Regions from separate parts of the Homo sapiens genome. Here all the other regions are linked to region 2. Evidence: promoter capture Hi-C in 16 types of primary human blood cells and fetal thymus (Javierre and others, 2016). All regions are on one chromosome and are shown on one strand. Each heading gives the region's core, a stretch centred on a gene start or on the middle of the fragment in contact. The rest is flanking DNA. Distances are from core to core; before and after follow the strand shown.

Region 1 (2,700 bases), core at 130-2,629, 510 kb after region 2:
TTAAAATAAGATTAAAATAGAAGTGACTATTAAGTGTTGGAGGTAATCGTGATCCAGGAGGATTAAAAGGAAGGGGAGAGGTGTATTTGAAAGAAAAAATAATATTCCTATTCCATCAAAGATGCTGTATTCACTTTATAAGAATTGAGAGAGGGAATTATTTGTTTTTATTTTATTCTTAGGACTTTGTTGCTTAACATAATTAGGTACATATTCTAGATAGTGCTGATTTGTATAAATGGAAGGATTCCTGGCATTATATTGGTGGGGGAATATGTAAATATATACAGTTGGCCCTTGAACAACACGGGGTTGAATTGTGAGGATCCACGTATGCAGATTTTTTTCAGTAAATATACTGGAAAATTTTTTAGAGATTTGTTACAATTTGAAGAAACTCACAGACAAACCACATAGCCTAGAAATATTTAAAAAGTTAAGAAAATGGTATGTCAGGATGCATAAAATATACATAGATGCTAGTCTATTTTATCATTTTCTACTATAAAATATACACAGATTTATTATACAAACTTAAAATGTATCAAAATTTATGTGCTCAAGCATAGACCATACGTGGCGCCATTTGCAGTTGAGATAAATGTAAACAAACATAGATTCAGCATTAAATCATAGCTGCAGCAAATTAACTGTGGCGAATATGGCACTACCGTAAGAATTTCACAGCAGCCTTCCATTGCTGCTGTAGTAAGCTCAGGTGTTGGAAGGATCCGCTTTAAACGTCCTGTGACACTCCTCGTCTCCATGTGAGGAGTCTGTCTCTCCAGGGAATTGGGAATAGCAGTAAAAAATGGTATCTTGTGGTTCTCACATATTTTTCACCGTGTTTAGTGCAGTTCCATAAACCTTGAATAACACCATAGAACCACTAAGAAGTCCCGTGCCACTAGGGACGCTGTGAGTGCTCCCAAGAGGCAGAGAAAAGTCATCACATGACCAAAAAAAACAAAAGTTGAATTGCATGATACGTACCCCAGGTTGAGGTCTGCAGCTGTGAGTGCCCCCCTTTTCAGACAGACGATCCATCTTGTGAACAGATGGCATAAACTCACTATATCCATAAATACAGTCCCATACACTAAATGTATTTTCTCTTCCTTATGATTTGCTTAGTAACATTTTCTTTCCTCTAGATCGTATTATTACAGAATTATATACTGTATTCTTAATACAGTATATAATTGTATAATTATTCTTAATACAGTATATAATTATACAAATACAAAATATGTGTTAATGGACCGTTTATGTTACTGGTAAAGCTTTAAGTCAACAGTGGGACATTAGTTAGGTTTTGGCGAAGTCAAAAGTTATATGTGCATTTTCAACTTCTTGAGGGGTCGGTACCTCTAACCCCCATGTTGTTCAAGGGTCAACTGTCTACACATATCATAGCTAATTCACTACAGAAATGTTAGCTTGTGTCACTAGTATCTCCCCTTCTCATAAGCTTAATACACATACCTTGAGAGAGCTCTTGGCCATCTCTACTAATGACTGAAGTTTTTATTTATTATAGATGTCATAATAGGCATAAAACTACATTACATCATTCGAGTGCCAATTTTGCCACCTTGACCCTCTTTTGCAAAACACCAACGTCAGTACACATATGAAGAGGAAACTGCCCGAGAACTGAAGTTCCTGAGACCAGGAGCTGCAGGCGTTAGATAGAATATGGTGACGAGAGTTACGAGGATGACGAGAGTAAATACTTCATACTCAGTACGTGCCAAGCACTGCTATAAGCGCTCTGTATGTGTGAAGTCATTTAATCCTCACAGCATCCCACGGTGTAATTATTTTCATTATCCCCATGAGGGAACAGAAACTCAGAACGGTTCAACACATATGCGAGAAGTCGCAGCCGGTCAGTGAGAGAGCAGGTTCCCGTCCAAGCAGTCAGACCCCGAGTGCACACTCTCGACCCCTGTCCAGCAGACTCACTCGTCATAAGGCGGGGAGCCCCAGTGTTCTGTTTCAGCCAGATGCTCTATGCATCTCAGAGTACCCAAACCATGAAAGAATGAGGCAGTATTCAGAGCAGATGGGGCTGGGCAGTAAGGCTGGGCTTCAGAATAGCTGGAAAGCTCAAGTCATGGGACCTGCAAGAAAAATCCATTGTTTGATAAATAGCCAAAGTCCCTAGGCTGTAAGGGGAAGGTGTGCCAGGTGCAAGTGGAGCTCTATGTAAAATCGCACCTGAGTCTCCTGGTCTTATGAGTCTGGGTGTACCCCAGTGAAAGGTCCTGCTGCCACCAAGTGGGCCATGGTTCAGCTGTGTAAGTGCTGAGCGGCAGCCGGACCGCTTCCTCTAACTTCACCTCCAAAGGCACAGTGCACCTGGTTCCTCCAGCACTCAGCTGCGAGGCCCCTAGCCAGGGTCCCGGCCCCCGGCCCCCGGCAGCTGCTCCAGCTTCCTTCCCCACAGCATTCAGGATGGTCTGCGTTCATGTAGACCTCTGTTTTCAGTCTGTGCTCCGAGGTCACTGGCAGCACTAGCCCCGGCTCCTGTGGATCACAGCCTGCTCGTCCTCAGGGCAGCACCTGGGCTTGTTGCAGAAGCTACATCTTGAAAGAGCCCATGGCCTAACGCTGGGCGCTGCAGTGAGCCGCACGGGGCCGGAGAAGGAGAGGACTCAGGGGAGCTTGTGTTCAAGTTCACTCCAGAGGATCCAG
Region 2 (2,742 bases), core at 172-2,671:
AGGAGCCGGAAAGAAACAAATAAGTCGTTAGGGAAAAGGAGAACGAGAATAACACCATGACCTGTAGGAGGTCCTGGAGGAGCTAAGGAGGTGTCAGCCATTTTCCCCCCCCATCTGTTCCACAGGTGGCATTTTATTGAGCACCGACTGTCCCCCATCCACTGTGCTCAGTGGCAGGGACTCAAGGTGGGCAAAATAGACATGGGCCTTGCCTTGCAGTCTAGTGGGAAAAACAGATTAATCATTTAAATATTTTGTTTCAAAGAATGGTAATGCATGCAGGCAAGGTCCAGGCCTGTGGGAGAGCAGGCTACAGGCCCACCTGCTATTTAGACAGTTACCAGTGGCAGAGGACCCCGAGGAAGGCGCAGTTTACTCGACGTGTAAATAGGAATAGCCTTAACTAGCTGTGGGTGTGCGGACAGGGAAGGGAAAGAGGAGAAACATCTGCAGAGACAATGCCGGGTGCACAGCCCGTGGGCGGGGCCGCGGGTGCAGGGGAACCCGTGCCTCTGAAGGGCTGGGAAGGCCAGGGTGTTGGGGGAGGAGACCGGGCCTATGGGACTGGCCCTGGCTACGCCAAGGTGGGGCTGACATGAAGTCCCCTTCATCCGTGGGGGGTGGCCCGTCCCTCTGGGAGGGGATCCCTCACAAGATGACTTCCCAGGTCGCGCCCCGAGGCGGCTCTTTGCTGCCCCCACAGAGATGACTTCCGGGCTCCTGGGGCCCGCGGGGAGGGGCAGGTGAGGCCCAGGGCTGGGTGAGGGCCAGGCCCTTCTAGGAATGTTGGTGCTCCCAGCACCTAGCACCGGGAGACTGGAGAGGTTTCCAGGAGAGTGACCCGAGTAGGTCCCCTCCTAATTCTGGAGCCGTCCCTCGGGCTGCGCAGTGGAGCGCCGAGGTGGCGGGAGGCTGCGGGGAGCCTGGGCGGCCAAGCACCATCTGCAGTCAGGAGCTCCCGGGCAGCTTGCAGGGCGCAGTTTTTGAAAGCGGGTGCTGCGTGCGGACCGCGGGCCTGCAGGGTGCGCGGGTCGGGCTGGGGGCTGTCCCTGGAGAGTAGAGTGGCCCTGGGGCCCGCACGCCCACTTGCTGGCGGGGGATGGCGCAGACACGGGCGGTCCCCCCGAGGGCGGTCCTCACGGGTGGTCTAGGTTAGCTCGGACCCGGGAGTGTGGGAGTGGCGCAGAGCTGCGGGAAAAGGCGCGGGGCGCCTGCGTGGCGAAGGAACACAGCCGCCTGACACGCCCTCAAGGCCCGCGGAGCTGCTCCTGCCTCGGCCTCTCTGAGCCAACCACGGGGCGGGGCGTGAACGCCGGGCGGGGACGTGCCGTTCTGGGGGGCGTGTCCACCGGCGGGGGCGTGCCGTCCTGGGGGCGTGGCTCTCTGCTCCGGTGCAGGCCCGCAGGGCGCCCTGGGCTGGGAGCAACGCGACTGACCGTGGTCGTGGGCGGACGGCGGCTGCAGCGTGGAGGAGCTGGGGTCGCTGTGGGTCGCGAAGCAGAGCCCGGGACGTGCGCGCTTGGTGCACGATCCTGAAGGGGAGCTCCGAGGGGCCCGGGTCGCCAGGGCTGCTGCGGCCATTCCCGGAGCCCGGCGCGGGGCCCGCGAGATACTGGTTTAGGCCGTCCCAGGGCTCCGGGCGCACCCGGTGGCCGCTGCTGCAGCGGAGGGAGCGCGGCGGCGCGGGGGCTCGGAGACAGCGTTTCTCCCGGAAGTCTTCCTCGGGCAGCAGGTGGGAAGTGGGAGCCGGAGCGGCAGCTGGCAGCGTTCTCTCCGCAGGTCGGCACCATGCGCCCTGCAGCCCTGCGCGGGGCCCTGCTGGGCTGCCTCTGCCTGGCGTTGCTTTGCCTGGGCGGTGCGGACAAGCGCCTGCGGTGAGTTACCTTGCGAGGTAAAGTGGGGAGCGTGGGAGCCGGGCCCTAGAGCTTTCCACTGGGTGAAGGCTGCAGCTCTCGGGGTCGGCGGTCGCTGAGCCCCGGGCAGCGACTGGGGAGGGCGGGGGGAGCCGAGCACGCTCCGGGGTGACCCCTGGGAAGAAGTTGGGAAGTTGAGCACGCCTCGGGGTGACCCCTGGAGGGAGTGGGTTGGGGGGAGCCCTTAGCACACTCAGAAGTGACCTCTGGGAAGGAGTGCGATGAGGGGAGTCCTGAGCACGCCCCGGGGTGACCTCTGGGAAGGAGTGGGTTGGGGGGAGCCCTGGGCACGCTCTGGGGTGACTCCTGGGAAGAAGTGGGTTGGGGAGCCCTGAACACTCCCCGGGGTGACCCCTGGGAAGGAGTAGGGGGTAGGGTGAGGTCCTGGGTACACTCCAGCCTGGAGCTGGACTGGAAACTCATCCCACAGACTGCTCCCAGCCTAGGACGCGACAAAGCAGGTGGCAGGCTTGGTGGAGCACTGTTCCTGCACTCGAAGTTCTCTCAGAGGTCGAAGAAGTCGTGGAGGGGACACTTAATTTCAGCTTTCACTGCGGCGGGTGGTGAAACGACGGTTCTTCCTCTTTTTGAGTATCCTGTTCTGAATCCCTTCCCTTGGCTCGCCCTCCGCGTGTGTGTGTGTGTGCGCGTGTGTGTGTGCGCGTGTGTGTGTGTGCGTGTGCGTTTGTGTGTGCGTGTGTGTGTGCGTGCGTGTGCGTGTGCGTGCGTGCGTGTGTGTGCGTGTGTGTCGTGTGTGCGCGTCTGTGCGTGTGTGTCGTGTGTGCGCGTGTGTGTGTGTGCGTGTGTGCGTGTGTGTGCGTGCGTGCGT
Region 3 (2,700 bases), core at 150-2,649, 580 kb after region 2:
CACTTTGACTAAATAAGGAAAAGAAGAGAATTGCATTACTCGGAACAGTGTTGCCTGGTAGAGCACCACACTAAGATTCAGAAGAATGACTTACAGTCCAGGATCCCCAGCAAGTTGATCCCAGCAGACTTTATTTGTCCATCAAATGGGTTTAATGATAATGCTCTTTTTGGGTTATCAAGAAAATTAAATTGGATAAGGGATGTGAAAATACTTGGAAACTCCAAATCACTCTACATTTTATTATATCCTTCTGTTTTTGCAAGCGAAAACATTTTTTAAAGTTTACAGTTATTTAGAAAGTTAAAATCTTGTGTGAGCTATAAAGCTCTATGATCTTGAACTGAAATTATTTTTGAAAGGTGAACACGTGATGTGAAACATTCAGCTGATCTGTTTACCCTGCCATTCTTGGCAGCAGTGGGAATTCATGCTAGGTCTGCCAAACAGTGATTGAGGGCCAGTTTGAGGTCAGGTATCAACACTCTGACCAGAAGCTTTTTATTTTAGTGTTTCCTGCCCTAGAAAGAGAAACATTTCTTCCTAGAACATATCAGAGGAAAGTACTTCCTATTTGTTCTTCCAAGCTTTACGCTTACAGCCCGGCTTTTCTTTAGCAAAGGAGAATAAAATATAAAGCAGAAAACGTCATTGTATCTCTTTTCTTCTAATCAGAAACAAGGTTCCATCCCTTCCTCTTTTTACTTCATCAGTTGCCTGTTGTACACACTTTGCATCCTCTGCATTCTTTTTGTAGCCTACTGAAGGGGTCTAGAGGTTTTCTCAACTAAAGCTGTTCTAGAATTTTAAAAATTAATAACATAATTGAGTTTTTCAGCATAAATTTAAAATCATATTTTACACAGATTATAAATTTATTTCAATCATGTTTTATGAATCAAGTTGAACATTCTTACTAAACTGAATTTCCAAGTGTATTTATTTATTTAGAGACAGGGTATTACTCTGTCACCCAGGCTGGAGTGCAATGGCATGATCATAGCTCACTGTAACCTCCCACTCCTGGGCTTGAGTGAGCCTCCTGCCTCAGCCTCCCGAGTAGCTAGGGCTACAGGTGTGCACAATCATACCTGGCTAGTTTTTTGTTTTTTCTTAGAGATGGGACCTTGCTATGTTGCCCAGGCTGTCCTTGAACTCCCAGTGTCAAGCAGTCCTCCCATCTTGGCCTCCCAAAGCTCTGGGATTATAGGCATGAACCACTGTGCCCAGCCCATCCACATGTATTTTAAATGATTTTTTTTTATTTCACTGAAAGAGGTTATGAAACAGGCTCTCACTTAGGACACCTAAGAACCAAAGATAATGTGTGGACTTTGATTGGGCCTGGTGTGAAAAAACAGCTGGAAAAGGCATTACTGGGATAACGGAACACTTAAATAGGATCTCAGTATTAAATAATATTAAATAATTATTGACAATTGTTAATTGTGATAATAATACCGTTAAACCTAGGTGATGAGTTTGAATGATGGATTTGAAGCCCAGCTCTTGCTTTCCAGCTTTGTGAGCTTGGGCAAATTGTTTAGCTTTTGTGCTTTCGTAGCTGTTTAATGACATAGTATAGCGCTTGACAAAAGTAAGTGTTCAATTTATTTTTTATTGTAACTAATATTGCATGTTTAATCCCCAGGATTTCTGGTACTCTCTTTTTGGTACTTTCTTCCATCTCTTGTTACTTACCTTGATTAGGATCTTGAATCAAGAACTTCCTGGGTCTCTATTCCAATACCTTTTTCTTAAGAAACTATTCCCTCACCTTTCTTATTGACAGAATAGAAAAAGAGAGCTCTTCTTTGCTTTTCCTCTTCTCTCATTCTCCTTCCTGGATTTCTGGTTAAGAAGAATAAATTAGAATAAGCAAAACAGTTTTGAGGTAGGACATATATTTTAATGATTAACTCAATCAAGGTCTGTGCAGCTTTATTCTAGCGACTTATTCCTCTTCTCAAGTTTGTATATTACAGTAAAGGTGAATGGATACACACACACACACACACACACACATGTATTTGTATATGTGTGCAGAGGATGTTTTCTTAAGAAGAACCTAGATCATAGAGTGCTTTAAAATCAGTTAATCACTTAGTATGCTTATGAATCTGAAGTTAGTGGGATGTTTGCATTGAATATTCTCAAGTTGATCAGGTATTCTAAATTAATTTTAACTTCTGAGTCTCCAGGAAAGCTTTCAGAATTTATACTTACTACCCAGGTGAGAAGTTGCAGTAAAATAAAAGTGAATCTTTCCCAAACTTGTGGAATATTAGAGTTGGAACAGGCCTTAGAAATTCCAGTGCTTCATTTGCCACATGAGAAGGCTGATATCTGAACCAAACAGATAACTTCAGAACCTCTGGATACCAAACTTGTGAAGCTAAAACAGAAATGTCAACTTGGGATTTAAAGGAAAATAGTAATGCATAGAAATGGTTTTGAAAAGAAGGTTTTAGATATTTTTGTGCTCCATGTTTTCCTGCATATGTCTCCCTTTTCTCTGCCAAACTGCTTTTCACACCCGGTCCTTGGACTCTTTGAGCACTTCCCTGCCATATAATTGACTTTCAGAAATTGAATGAAGCTGGAAATGTTGAAGCAGGACTGGCCATAAGAATCTCTTAATATCTGGATAGTCCAGTCACAAAGATCTTTACTGTCATTCAGCTGACTTTTGGCTCGCTA
Region 4 (2,700 bases), core at 46-2,545, 620 kb after region 2:
GTAAGGAGGCCAGAGGGGCTCTAGCAGCGGGGCAGAGAAGAGGGACAATTGTAGAAGAAAAGGTGAAGCAGGAAGGGGGATTCTCAATTGTGAGGGTTCTCATAGGCCATAGAAAGGATTTTAGCTTTACTCTGAGTGTGATAGGAAGCCTTTGGGTTTAGAGCAGAGTGGTGGTGTGACCGACTTGGATTTTAAAGGATCACTCTGGCAGCTCTGTGGAGAACAAACTGTAGAGGCAATGTTAGAAGCCCAGAGACTGGGCTGGAGACAAGTACAGTTGTCCTGGCAAGAGATGACTGTGGCTCAAATCAGTGATAGAAGTGGTTTAAAGAGCAAAAAAGCCTGTTTAAAAAACAAAAAAGTGGTCAGATTCTGTAAATGGTCTGAGTGTACAGCCAGCAGGCCACACTGTTGACGGATTGGATGTGTGAGAGTGGGAGGAGGCAAGGATGCCTCATGGCATTCGACCTGAGCATCTGGAGAGGTGGAGTTGCCATTAAGTGACTGTGGGAGGAGCAGGTTCAGGGAGGAAAATCATTTCAGTGTGGACGTGAAGTCTGAGATCCAGGTAGCATCCAAGTGGAGATGTGAGGAAAGCAGTTGGACGTAACACTGTAGAGTTTGTGGGAGGAAATAGGAGAGAGATGAGATCGTCAAGATGAGGTCCAAGGTTTGACCTCTGGTTTTCTCTAGGTGTGTAGAAGTTTAGAGGATGAGCAGAAGCCGGCAAAGACAGCTGAGAGGCGTGGCGAGAGAAGGAGGAGGAGAACCAAGAGAGAAGGATGCCCCAGAAAGTGAGGGAAGAGAGTGCTTTAGGAAGGGGATGGGACCCAGTACTGTTGATGGGTCTCAGAAGTTAAGAGCAGATTACCCGTGGAGGTTATCAGTTGTCACTTCCACGAGAGCAGTCTTGGTGGCTGGATGGGGTCAGAGGCCTGATTGAAGTCAGGGGAGAATAGAAAGAAGATGGAGATGGTATGGCCATCTCAGTGATTTTTCCTGTGGAGCAAAGAAGTGGGTGGTAGTTGAAGGATGCAGTGGGGTCGGGGAACATGTCATTTTCCCAAGGAAAATACTGGATGTTTCTGTGCATTGGGAATGGTCCAGGAAAGGGGAAAATTATGGTGCAGGCAAGAGGGAATTGTTGCTAGGGGGCTATTGAGGAGTGACTTGGAAAGCAGGTTTCTCTAGGGAGGAGGAAGGGGCAGGAAGTGGCAGTGAGGAGGGCAGACACCTAGCTCACTGCCTGTCCAAGTGGTACAGGATTCACAGGGGAGAGCCCTGGTCCTGGAGACTAAATTTCAAACCTAGCCGGAAGGTGAGAGGATCATCAGAGAAGAGGGTGAGGACATAGGGAGGTTTGCTGTTGGTTTTTGGAGATGGGTAGGAGATGAGATGGGATTAAAGGCGCACAGACCTGAATGGGGTGAGGGATGACCTGAGAGTGTTGCACGTCTTGTGCAGCAAGACGTAACCAGGATGGCGGGCACATTGGAATTGGGTCTTGACAGGGATGGTTCTAGGCCAGTTGAGGAGTTGGGCGAGGCAGTGAAGGTCATAGGGGAGCATCCTGACATCCAGGCTGCATCATCCTCCTATGCAGGCGCTTTGAGCCCCGGGGAGAGGCACGGTAGCCAGAGTTCTGGGACCTCTCCTTCGAGATGCCTGGGAAGAAGTCAAGGAGGGAGAGATATTGAGCCAGATCTTAAGAGAGTTGATCATATTCCTCCCCTGATCACATCCTTCATTGACTTCCTGCAGCACTTGAGTAAAATCCAGATCCCTCCCTTGGCCTCTCAGCCCTGCACTGCTTGTCGGCCCGCCTCCCCACCCTCTCCCCAGTGCTTGCCTTGCCCTGCCCTCTTTCTCCTCCTCAGTTGGAGCCATTTTCTTCTGCCTGGGAGACCTGGCAGTTGCATTTCTTTTTTCAGGAATGCCCCTTCCTGGCTCTTTTCAGAGTTGGATTGGTCACTTCCTGATGTCTTCACTTGGTCACCTCTTTAGAGAGGCTCTTCCTGACCCAGTTACTCTGCCCCTATTTATGTCCTTAGTAGAACCTGCCTCATTAGTTTATTGCCCATTTTCCCCCATCTGAATGTAAGTACGCTAGGTGCTGTCTTATTCCTTTCTGTGTATGTAGAACCTACCAAGTACCTGGTGTCTAATAGCTGTTCATAACTACTTGTTGAACAAACAGATGAGTGAGTTGTTTGGATTTGGGTAACTACCAAGGAGAGCTGAGGGCATTGGCATAAGGTAATTGTTGGGAGTTAGATGACAAGAACATAATGCCGGAACATTCTACAGAGTTCTCTTGTGGGAGTCCTACTAACCCCTGCTGACAATTTGCGAGATGTCTTAGTCCATTCAGCCTGCTGTAATAAAATACCTTAGACTTTGTGATTTATAAACAACAGAAATTTATTTCTTACGGGTTTTGAGGCCGGAAGTCAGAGATCAAGGTGCACTCATGGGTTCTTGGTGAGGCCTCCCCCTTCCTGGTGTCACACTGTTGCCTCTGGTTATATCTTGACATGGCAGAGAGCAGAGAGCTTTAGTCTCTTTCTCGTCTTATTAGGGCGTGGATCCCATTCATGAGGACTCCATCCCCATGACCTGATCATCTCCTGAAGGGCCATCTTCCAGTACCATCACCATGGGGTCGAGGATTTCAGCAAACACTCAGACCATAGCACACAG
Region 5 (2,746 bases), core at 65-2,564, 710 kb after region 2:
CCGGGCACGGTGGCTCACGCCTGTAATCCCAGCACTTTGGGAGGCCAAGGCGGGCGGATCACGAGGTCAGGAGATCGAGACCATCCTGGCTAACACGGTGAAACCCTGTCTCTACAAAAAAATACAAAAAATTAGCCAGGCGTCATGGCGGGCGCCTGTAGTCCCAGCTACTCGGGAGGCAGGAGAATGGCATGACCCCGGGAGGCGGAGCTTGCAGTGAGCCGAGATCGTGCCACTGCACTCCAGCCTGGGCGACAGAGCGAGACTCCGTCTCAAAAAAAAAAAAAGAAGACTTGTGTGAAGAAGGCGTCCTGATTGCAACTGGACATCTCAATGGGCATTTGGTAATTAAAGGTCTGCTATAGTCATGGGACTAGACTTAGGAAGGAATCTTAGCATGGAGAGAGAGCAACCTGTCCATAAATATTCACAAAAGGACAATGGTACCATTTTCTAGAAAATACTGGATTTTGATCTAAATAGGTGTCTACAAATATTATTTACTATAATTATGGAATGTATAAATTGTATATAAAAACATGTCTTTATGTCTTTATCAACATAAAAAAGTTAATTTTCTCTAGAATTCTAAGAATGAATAACACATCAATAAAATTTTTTACATGATGATAAATTTAAAGAGTTTTCCAGATGTATATCTTTATATATATGCATATAAAAATGTTATTGAATATTGAAATATCAAAATAAATCTTGCATAGTTGAAAGGACTATACATTTCTAGTTTTACACCAAAGGAAGAATTTATTGTTTAACTATTAAAGCTTTATCCTTAATATTAAGCAGTATATCTCATTGTGAATTTATATTCTTTTTTATTTACAGGCTAATGAAAATTTATAATATCAAATGCAATGTTCTACTACCACATGAGCAAATCGGCCTTCTTGATGGTGCTAAAATATCTCTTTGCAATGTCTAATCCTGGACCCTGGCTTTTGGCTGCTCCTAGGAGAAGGAAACCAGGCCCGTGGTACACACTGATAAGGACAGTGGGCTCCCCCAGGAAAAGCAGATGAGATTTCTCGTATAGATGACAAATGCGTTATCTAACATTATATTTTCATTTCTCTTAGGGAATATTTTTGTATGTCTACTGTGTTTCCATCTTTTTCATCACTTAGCATTAAAATATTCATTCAGTAAAGTGATTGGTGTAACCGGCATTTAAAAATTCTAATTGCATGCAAAGTAATATTTTGCATCATCCACATAGTTTCATTTCAAAGATGTACAAAAAGATAGGCATGATTCCTGCCTTAGAAGAGAATGTGGTCCGGGCGCGGTGGCTCACGCCTGTAATCCCAGCACTTTGGGAGGACGAGGTGGGAGGATCACGAGGTCAGGAGATTGAGACCATCCTGGCTAACACGGTGAAACCCCGTCTCTACTTAAAAAATACAAAAAATTAGCCGGGCATGGTGGCGGGCGCCTGTAGTCCCAGCTACTCGGGAGGCTGACGCAAGAGAATGGCATGAACCCGGGAGGCGGAGCTTGCAGTGAGCGGAGATGGCTCCACTGCACTCCAGCCTGGGCGACAGAGTGAGACTCCGTCAAAAATAAAAAATAAAAAATAAGAATGTGGTGTGACAGTCTCAATTTGCTAGACAGGGTGGTATTTGGGGGGGGCCAGTCTGTCCGATGGTTGAACATGGCTGAAAGTTTCATTTACAAATGTGCAGCGTTCTCTAGAGAGAAGACAAAATGCTGTCGTGACTTTAGAGGCAGAAGTTCCAGTTAACACTTTTGAATCAAAATAAATCTTACATATTAAGCTAGGAAAGGTGGTTTTCTCCAATAGTGTTAGAAATACGAAGCTTTTGAAAGAAATCATCTTTATTATCTCTGTAAAAATCAAAGACTTTAAAGCATTTTTGGTGTGGTTTTTGGTTACCCCTCTGTATTCAAAGAACTGAAATCAGTTTATTTGTCCATAGGTATATACATAGCTATAAAAGTATTTAGTGCTAGCAAGAATGGGATAGATTTTGGTGGACAACTTACGGAATTTCATGAAGGTTTCAAAACAAGGATGAAAAATGTAGTCCTTTTTAAGAATGAAAGCTCAGCTGGATGGTAAAGCTCTAGAAGCTGTCCCATAGTAAAGACTAAAGCAGGTGTATCTGAGCCTGGAAAGAAAGGTCCAAGGGGAGGTGTAAGTAGCCTGAAATACCTGGGGTTTGCATGTGGATTTTATACTTATTTCATGTTTTATTGACTATTCTGCTGTGGACTGCACTGTGTCCTTCTCATCCCCAAAATTTCTATGTCGAAGACCTAATCTTCAATGTGGTGGTATTTGGAGGTCACCTTTGGGCAGTGACAAGGTTCAATGAGATCATGAGGGAGGCCTTACAGGGGACTGATGTTCTCTGCTGTCTGCCAGCCAGGAGGAGGCCCTCGCCAGAACTCAACCATGCTGACATCCTGATCTTGGACTTCCAGCCTCCAGAGCTGTGAGAAAATAAATTTCTGTTGTTTAAGCCATCCAGCATGTGAAATTGTGTTACAGTAGCCTGAGCTAAGGCAAGAAATATTCCAATAAATATATTTCGTATTTATTCTAGGTAGCATCAGAGACCAGAAATAAGGCCAATGGGAATAATTTACAAAGAAGTTAAAGTTCAGTTCAATACGAGGGAAATTTTATTTTAAATTTTTTTTGAGGCAGCGTCTCACTCTGTCACCCAGGCTGGAGTGCAGTGGCACAATCTTGGCTCACTGC
Region 6 (2,700 bases), core at 110-2,609, 550 kb after region 2:
CCAGACGAGAGGAAGGCAGGCTGGATCTTTGCCTTGAGAGCTCCGTGTCACCAGGATGGAAGGGGGTGCCTCTCGGAGGAGCCTGTGTCCACCTCCAGTCTCGGCTTTCCCCGGGGGGCCAAGCGCACTGGGCTGCCGTCTGTCCCCAGCTCCCGTGGCCACACAGCTATCTGGAGGCTTTGCAGGGAGTCGTGGGTTCTCGCACCTGCTCAGCCCTGTGTCGGCTTCCTGTGTGCTCACCTAAAGCTGTGGTTTTGCTGTGTTCACTTCGATTTTTCTGGTCTGTGGAGAAACTGTGAATTGGAGAAATGGAGCTCTGTGGCTTCCCACCCAAACCTTCTCAGTCCAGCTGGAGGCTGGAGGGAGACACAGGCCCCACCCAGCAGACTGAGGGGCAGAGGCACAGGTGGGAGGGCAGCGGAGATCAGCGTGGACAGGAGCGATGCACTTTGTAGATGCTGTGGCTTTGTGTTGCGTTTTGTGTCTCTGTTGCACAGATCTGTTTTTTCACACTGATCCGTATTCCCCTGGGTGTGCACACAGGGCGGGTGTGGGGCATTTAGGCCATGCTGTGCTCTACTTCATTGAGTAAAATCGAGTGAGAGGTTCCGGGCAGCAGGATCGACGCCCAGTCCAGCCGGCAGAGGGAACACACGGGTCCTTCATTGTCCTGTAAGGGTGTTGAAGATGCTCCCTGGCGGCCCCCAAGCAGACTAGATGGGAGGAGGCGCCGCTCAGCCCCTCACCCTGCATCACTGAAGAGCGGCGCCTCTGCAGCAAGCAGGGCTTCAGGAGGTGCCCGCTGGCCACAGCCAGGTTTTCCCTAAGAAGATGTTATTTTGTTGGGTTTTGTTCCCCCTCCATCTCGATTCTCGTACCCAACTAAAAAAAAAAAAATAAAGAAAAAATGTGCTGCGTTCTGAAAAATAACTCCTTAGCTTGGTCTGATTGTTTTCAGACCTTAAAATATAAACTTGTTTCACAAGCTTTAATCCATGTGGATTTTTTTTTTCTTAGAGAACCACAAAACATAAAAGGAGCAAGTCGGACTGAATACCTGTTTCCATAGTGCCCACAGGGTATTCCTCACATTTTCTCCATAGAAGATGCTTTTTCCCAAGGCTAGAACGACTTCCACCATGATGAATTTGCTTTTTAGGTCTTAATTATTTCACTTCTTTTTAGAAACTTAGGAAGAAGTGGATAATCCTGAGGTCACACAATCTGTCCTCCCAGAAATGAACAAAAGTCATCACCTTTTCTGCTTGCTACACAGGCAACGATTCCCCCATCAGCTGCCCGGACCCTTTGGCCTGGCTTGGTGTGCAGGCCTGTCTGTTTGCTTAAAGTCAGTGGGTTCTGGTGCAGGGAGTGAGAAGTGGGGGAAGTGAAAGGGAAAGCATCCGTGAGAAAGCGGCCACGGTTTTCCCTCCTTGTGTGCCCATGGGGCACCAGCTCATGGTCTTTTTCAGTCATCCCAGTTTGTACAGACTTAGCTTCTGAACTCTAAGAATGCCAAAGGGACCGACGAGACTCCCCATCACAGCGAGCTCTGTCCTTACATGTATTTGATGTGCATCAGCGGAGGAGAACACTGGCTTGGCCCTGCTCCGCTGAGTGTCTGTGAAATACCTCTACTTTCCCTCCCATATCCAGAACAAAATGATACTTGACATCCTTCCACAAAAGTCAGCCTAAAGAAGTTATGGTATCATATGTTAAACTAAGCTTTCAAAAACCTTAGTGAAATAGCAAGTGACTGCTTTCAAGCAGCAGTCGACATGTAAATGAAGGTGTTCTTAGAATTCGCATTTTGCCAGCTCAGCGCACCTCCACAACGAATGAAATGCTCCGTATGATTTGCACAAATGACATAGACCTCCCCAAAAGTTAACTGGCTCTCCTTCCTCACACAGTTCATCATAACCCAACCCCCCACCCCCGGGTCATGAAAATCACAGAACTTATAAACACATTGAACCCTAGATCTCAGGCTTCCTGACCTACCGCCAGTGGCCCCTTGCTGGCCACCCTATAGGGTCCTCCTTCCCTGGCAGCCCCCCATGTGGGAGAAATACCTGATTCTCCCAATCTGCAGTGGGAGAGCTTTGCTGAATTCCATCCCAAAGTCAAACATGGGCAAGAGGTGAGGATTTCACTTTTACCCTCAAGTCCGATTTGTCTGTGATTTTAAACTAACTGTGTATGTATTGATGTTTGGAAGATTGTTTGAATTTTAAAGTGATAATAGTACTTAATGTTATCCAGTATTGTTCATTAAATGGTGTTATCCTAAAGCTGCACTTGGGATTTTTACCTAACGCTTTACTGATTCTCTCAAGCACATGGCAAAGTTTGATTTGCACTCCGTTCATTTCTGACACGTTTTGCTGCCTCCTACCTTTCTAAGCGTCATGCAAATTCGAGAATGGAGAAGGACGCTGCCGGTCCCTGAGCGGTGTGGAGAGGGCGGAAGGTGGACTCCAGCGCAGCTTGAGGGGCTGAGGACGGAGGCTGCAGCATCTGTGTCGTTCTACTGAGCACGCTTCTCTGCCTCGCTCCTGACTCAGCACTTTGTTCACTGGCTCAGCAGTTATGTTTACACATCATTTTTATGTTCCTGCTTTGTAATTCATGTTTGAGATGGGTGGCCACTGTACAGATATTTATTACGCTTTCCAGACTTTCTGAATAGATTTT
Region 7 (2,700 bases), core at 10-2,509, 690 kb after region 2:
ATTAGAATGAATTTTCAAGTTAGAAAATGACTCACCTGGCTGGGCGCGGTGGCTCACGCCTGTAATCCCAGCACTTTGGGAAGCCGAGTTGAGTGGATCACCTGAGTTAGGAGTTCGAGACCAGCCTGTCCAACATAGTGAAACCCTGTCTCTACTAAAAATACAAAATTAGCCAGGCATGGTGACACGTGCCTGTAATCCCAGCTACTTGGGAGGCTGAGGCAGAAGAATCGCTTGAACCTAGGAGGCAGAGGTTGCAGTGAGCCGAGATCATGCCACTGCACTCCAGCCTGGGTGACAAGAGCAAAAAAATTCCGTTTCCAAAAAAAAAAGAAAATGACTCACCTTGTGTTTAAACACCTTATTTAATGCTGGAGGAATGTAAGGAGTATTAGAAGGTAATGGATTTGAAGGGCCTTATAAGGAAACAGGAAGAGAGAAGAATTTTTCCATGAGGAAATAATTTTCATTTTACAGTTAGAAGAATTAACACCTAGACAAATGAAGTGACTTACTCAGGACAAGGCTCCTACCCCTGGGGCTCAGAAGTACTTGGGAATTACTTCCAAGCCATATAAACAATATTGAGCTTTGGGTTTATTTTATTAGTTACTTAATTATACTTATGACAGGAATATAGTTTAGGCTTTTAGTAAATGTATGCTGTGTTGAATTAGTTGAACTTTAAAAATGGATTACTTTCTCAATAATGTATTTTATTAATCTTTCTCTCAGTTTCCATTTTAACCAGAGACTTACAATGTAATTACCTTTTTAAAGGATATGGTGGTGTTTTATTGCACCTTGAATTGCTAAATTTAAATTTGTTTTCACTTTTTCATGCTTTTGATTTTTTCTTCATTTAAAGGATCTAGAGCCACATTTACCCAAATTAGTAGGCATTAATGTCAAGTGGACTGTTGAAACAGCAGAGTAAAAAAAGTATAATTCAGAGGATTCACATGCAGAGTGGAAACACCCAACCTCCCTGTCCTCCTCAAGCCCCTAACATGTAGGCTCTGCTACCACGGGTTTCAAAACCAGGCCTACAGATGTGTTTCAGGGGTAACAATATTTTGGAGGAAAAACTCAAAGCCCTTTTTTTTTTTTTTTTTCCTGTTCAAGTAGCTATGAACATGTAAGCCACTGATTTTTCTCATCCGGGGAACACCGATGATGACATTTGTTGAGTTGTAGATCTCTAGGTTAGACCAAAGGATGAGATCAGTGCAGAACAAGATACTTAAAGCGTTGACCACAGGCCTAGTCAATCTCTCCGAGGACGGCCAAGGGCAGGTTTATCAGGCTCTACCGTCCTTCCACATGAAACTTGGCATGACCAGTACTTTGAAGCCTGAACGAAAGACGACAGATCCAGCCAGGCTTGGTCTATAGAATCGTGCCTTTCCCCACCTCCATCCACCAGGAAAGAGGAGCCTGATTAAGATCCCCTGTTTTAAGTCTGAAGAGGGCAGATTCCAATCTTCCCCATTTTCAAAATCACAGACTTGCCTTCGCTGCAGAATTAGGGCTCTACAAATTCGCTCTCTCAGAGTTGATAACTGCCAAGATAAAATGGTTAACTTAAAGGATTTTAATATAATAAATGTTAATTGTTTAGTAGGAACCAAGACACAAGTGAAAGTGCTAGCATTTGGCAGACTTTGATGGATTTCAAAATCCTATCATTTATTGGTTTTAGCAAACATTTTCCATTAATGACCGTACTTGAAGACATTTATATCAAATAGATAATTAATAAAAGTATATACATAGCAGCAATGCTAAAGTGATTTTAACTAAATAATTAGTTCTGGCGCCAGAAATAATTTAACTTTTTAAAAAACTAATAGCAAATCTATTTGTTTTGCTACTTTGCATACATTAGGTGGACAATAAATAATGGTTTGTTGTGGGCTGTGCTTTAAAACACCAAAATAACTAATTATTTGATTAAAGTGGTGCTTTGTCTCAGGAAACCTAGTATACAATTTCCTGAGTCCTTGAACTCAATGGAGGAGACCATAGCATGTACAATTACACTGTTTCCTAAACAGGGTGACCAGAGTCCGATCAAGACAACCTATCTCAGTTTGTGAGCATCATTATTTTTTAATACTCTCAGTAGAGTGTGTTTTGCAATTCACAGTGACATTAAATCTCCATTGGTTATTTGCACAAATGAGTGCATGTGATGTATGCATATGTATGTATACATGTGCATATGTGTCTATATATCTTTTAAAATTATACCAAAAACAAAGAACATGGTCAACTGTCTTCATTCCATCATGAGTGCATTACTGAAGCATTTATAGTATCTCTCCTATATAGAAGTGAACTACTCAGTAACCTCAGCTATTCAAGACTTCACAGATAACAAGAAATAAGGAAAATGATCTTAAGAATCAAGATAGATGTCACAGAGCCCATGAACTAAATAGTCATAATTGTTGAAATCTTGATAATAATAGAATAGCAAGCGCTTATATAGGATTTACTGTGGGCAGCCTGCCTCCAAATGCTTTATACAGATCAGATAATTTAGTCTTCACAAAAACCATGTAAGCTAGGCATTATTAGTATCAACTCCATTTTGCAGATGATGAAAATTGAGGTATAAAGAAGTTAAGTAACTTGTTACAGTCATGTAGCCTGTCAAGCGGTAGAGCTGGCATTTGAACCCGGCAGGTGGCTGCA

Evidence for each region. The method cuts DNA at HindIII sites, captures the fragments that hold promoters and counts their contacts. A CHiCAGO score of 5 or more calls a contact.
Region 1: a contact is called between a fragment that was not itself captured here and the fragment with the promoter of RNASET2 in region 2, in 2 of 17 cell types (fetal thymus and non-activated CD4 T cells). The highest score is 7.4, in fetal thymus.
Region 3: a fragment that was not itself captured here is called in contact with the fragment with the promoter of RNASET2 in region 2 in 8 of 17 cell types (monocytes, total B cells, naive CD8 T cells and 5 more); the score reaches 9.5 in monocytes.
Region 4: a fragment that was not itself captured here is called in contact with the fragment with the promoter of RNASET2 in region 2 in 1 of 17 cell types (activated CD4 T cells); the score reaches 6.2 in activated CD4 T cells.
Region 5: a fragment that was not itself captured here is called in contact with the fragment with the promoter of RNASET2 in region 2 in 1 of 17 cell types (non-activated CD4 T cells); the score reaches 5.9 in non-activated CD4 T cells.
Region 6: a fragment that was not itself captured here is called in contact with the fragment with the promoter of RNASET2 in region 2 in 6 of 17 cell types (non-activated CD4 T cells, total CD8 T cells, naive CD8 T cells and 3 more); the score reaches 10.1 in non-activated CD4 T cells.
Region 7: a contact is called between a fragment that was not itself captured here and the fragment with the promoter of RNASET2 in region 2, in 1 of 17 cell types (M0 macrophages). The highest score is 6.3, in M0 macrophages.

What each region holds. Positions count from the first base shown.
Region 1 is chr6:166,441,593-166,444,292 of GRCh38, reverse strand. The region is part of intron 14 of RPS6KA2 (ribosomal protein S6 kinase A2); the gene reads left to right. Among named protein-coding and RNA genes, the nearest start is that of RPS6KA2-IT1, 22 kb to the left of the region's middle. The HindIII fragment of the contact is 188 bases long and covers 1,286-1,473 here.
Region 2 is chr6:166,955,229-166,957,970 of GRCh38, reverse strand. It overlaps RNASET2 (ribonuclease T2), which reads left to right and starts at 1,421. Exons shown (of 9, transcript NM_003730.6): 1 at 1,421-1,874. The coding sequence starts at 1,789. RefSeq lists silencers at 436-485, 756-855, 896-1,655. The HindIII fragment of the contact is 12,502 bases long and covers 1-2,742 here.
Region 3 is chr6:166,377,744-166,380,443 of GRCh38, reverse strand. All of the region lies in intron 1 of MPC1 (mitochondrial pyruvate carrier 1), which reads left to right. Among named protein-coding and RNA genes, the nearest start is that of MPC1, 3.8 kb to the left of the region's middle. The HindIII fragment of the contact is 1,619 bases long and covers 590-2,208 here.
Region 4 is chr6:166,337,810-166,340,509 of GRCh38, reverse strand. The region is part of intron 1 of SFT2D1 (SFT2 domain containing 1); the gene reads left to right. Among named protein-coding and RNA genes, the nearest start is that of SFT2D1, 3.4 kb to the left of the region's middle. The HindIII fragment of the contact is 5,592 bases long and covers 1-2,700 here.
Region 5 is chr6:166,246,239-166,248,984 of GRCh38, reverse strand. The region is part of intron 2 of LOC101929297 (a long non-coding RNA gene); the gene reads right to left. Among named protein-coding and RNA genes, the nearest start is that of PRR18, 61 kb to the left of the region's middle. The HindIII fragment of the contact is 1,053 bases long and covers 788-1,840 here.
Region 6 is chr6:166,409,416-166,412,115 of GRCh38, reverse strand. RPS6KA2 (ribosomal protein S6 kinase A2) reads left to right here. Exons shown (of 21, transcript NM_021135.6): 21 at 1-2,700. Among named protein-coding and RNA genes, the nearest start is that of MPC1-DT, 28 kb to the right of the region's middle. The HindIII fragment of the contact is 742 bases long and covers 989-1,730 here.
Region 7 is chr6:166,264,246-166,266,945 of GRCh38, reverse strand. No RefSeq gene overlaps it. Among named protein-coding and RNA genes, the nearest start is that of PRR18, 43 kb to the left of the region's middle. The HindIII fragment of the contact is 6,772 bases long and covers 1-2,700 here.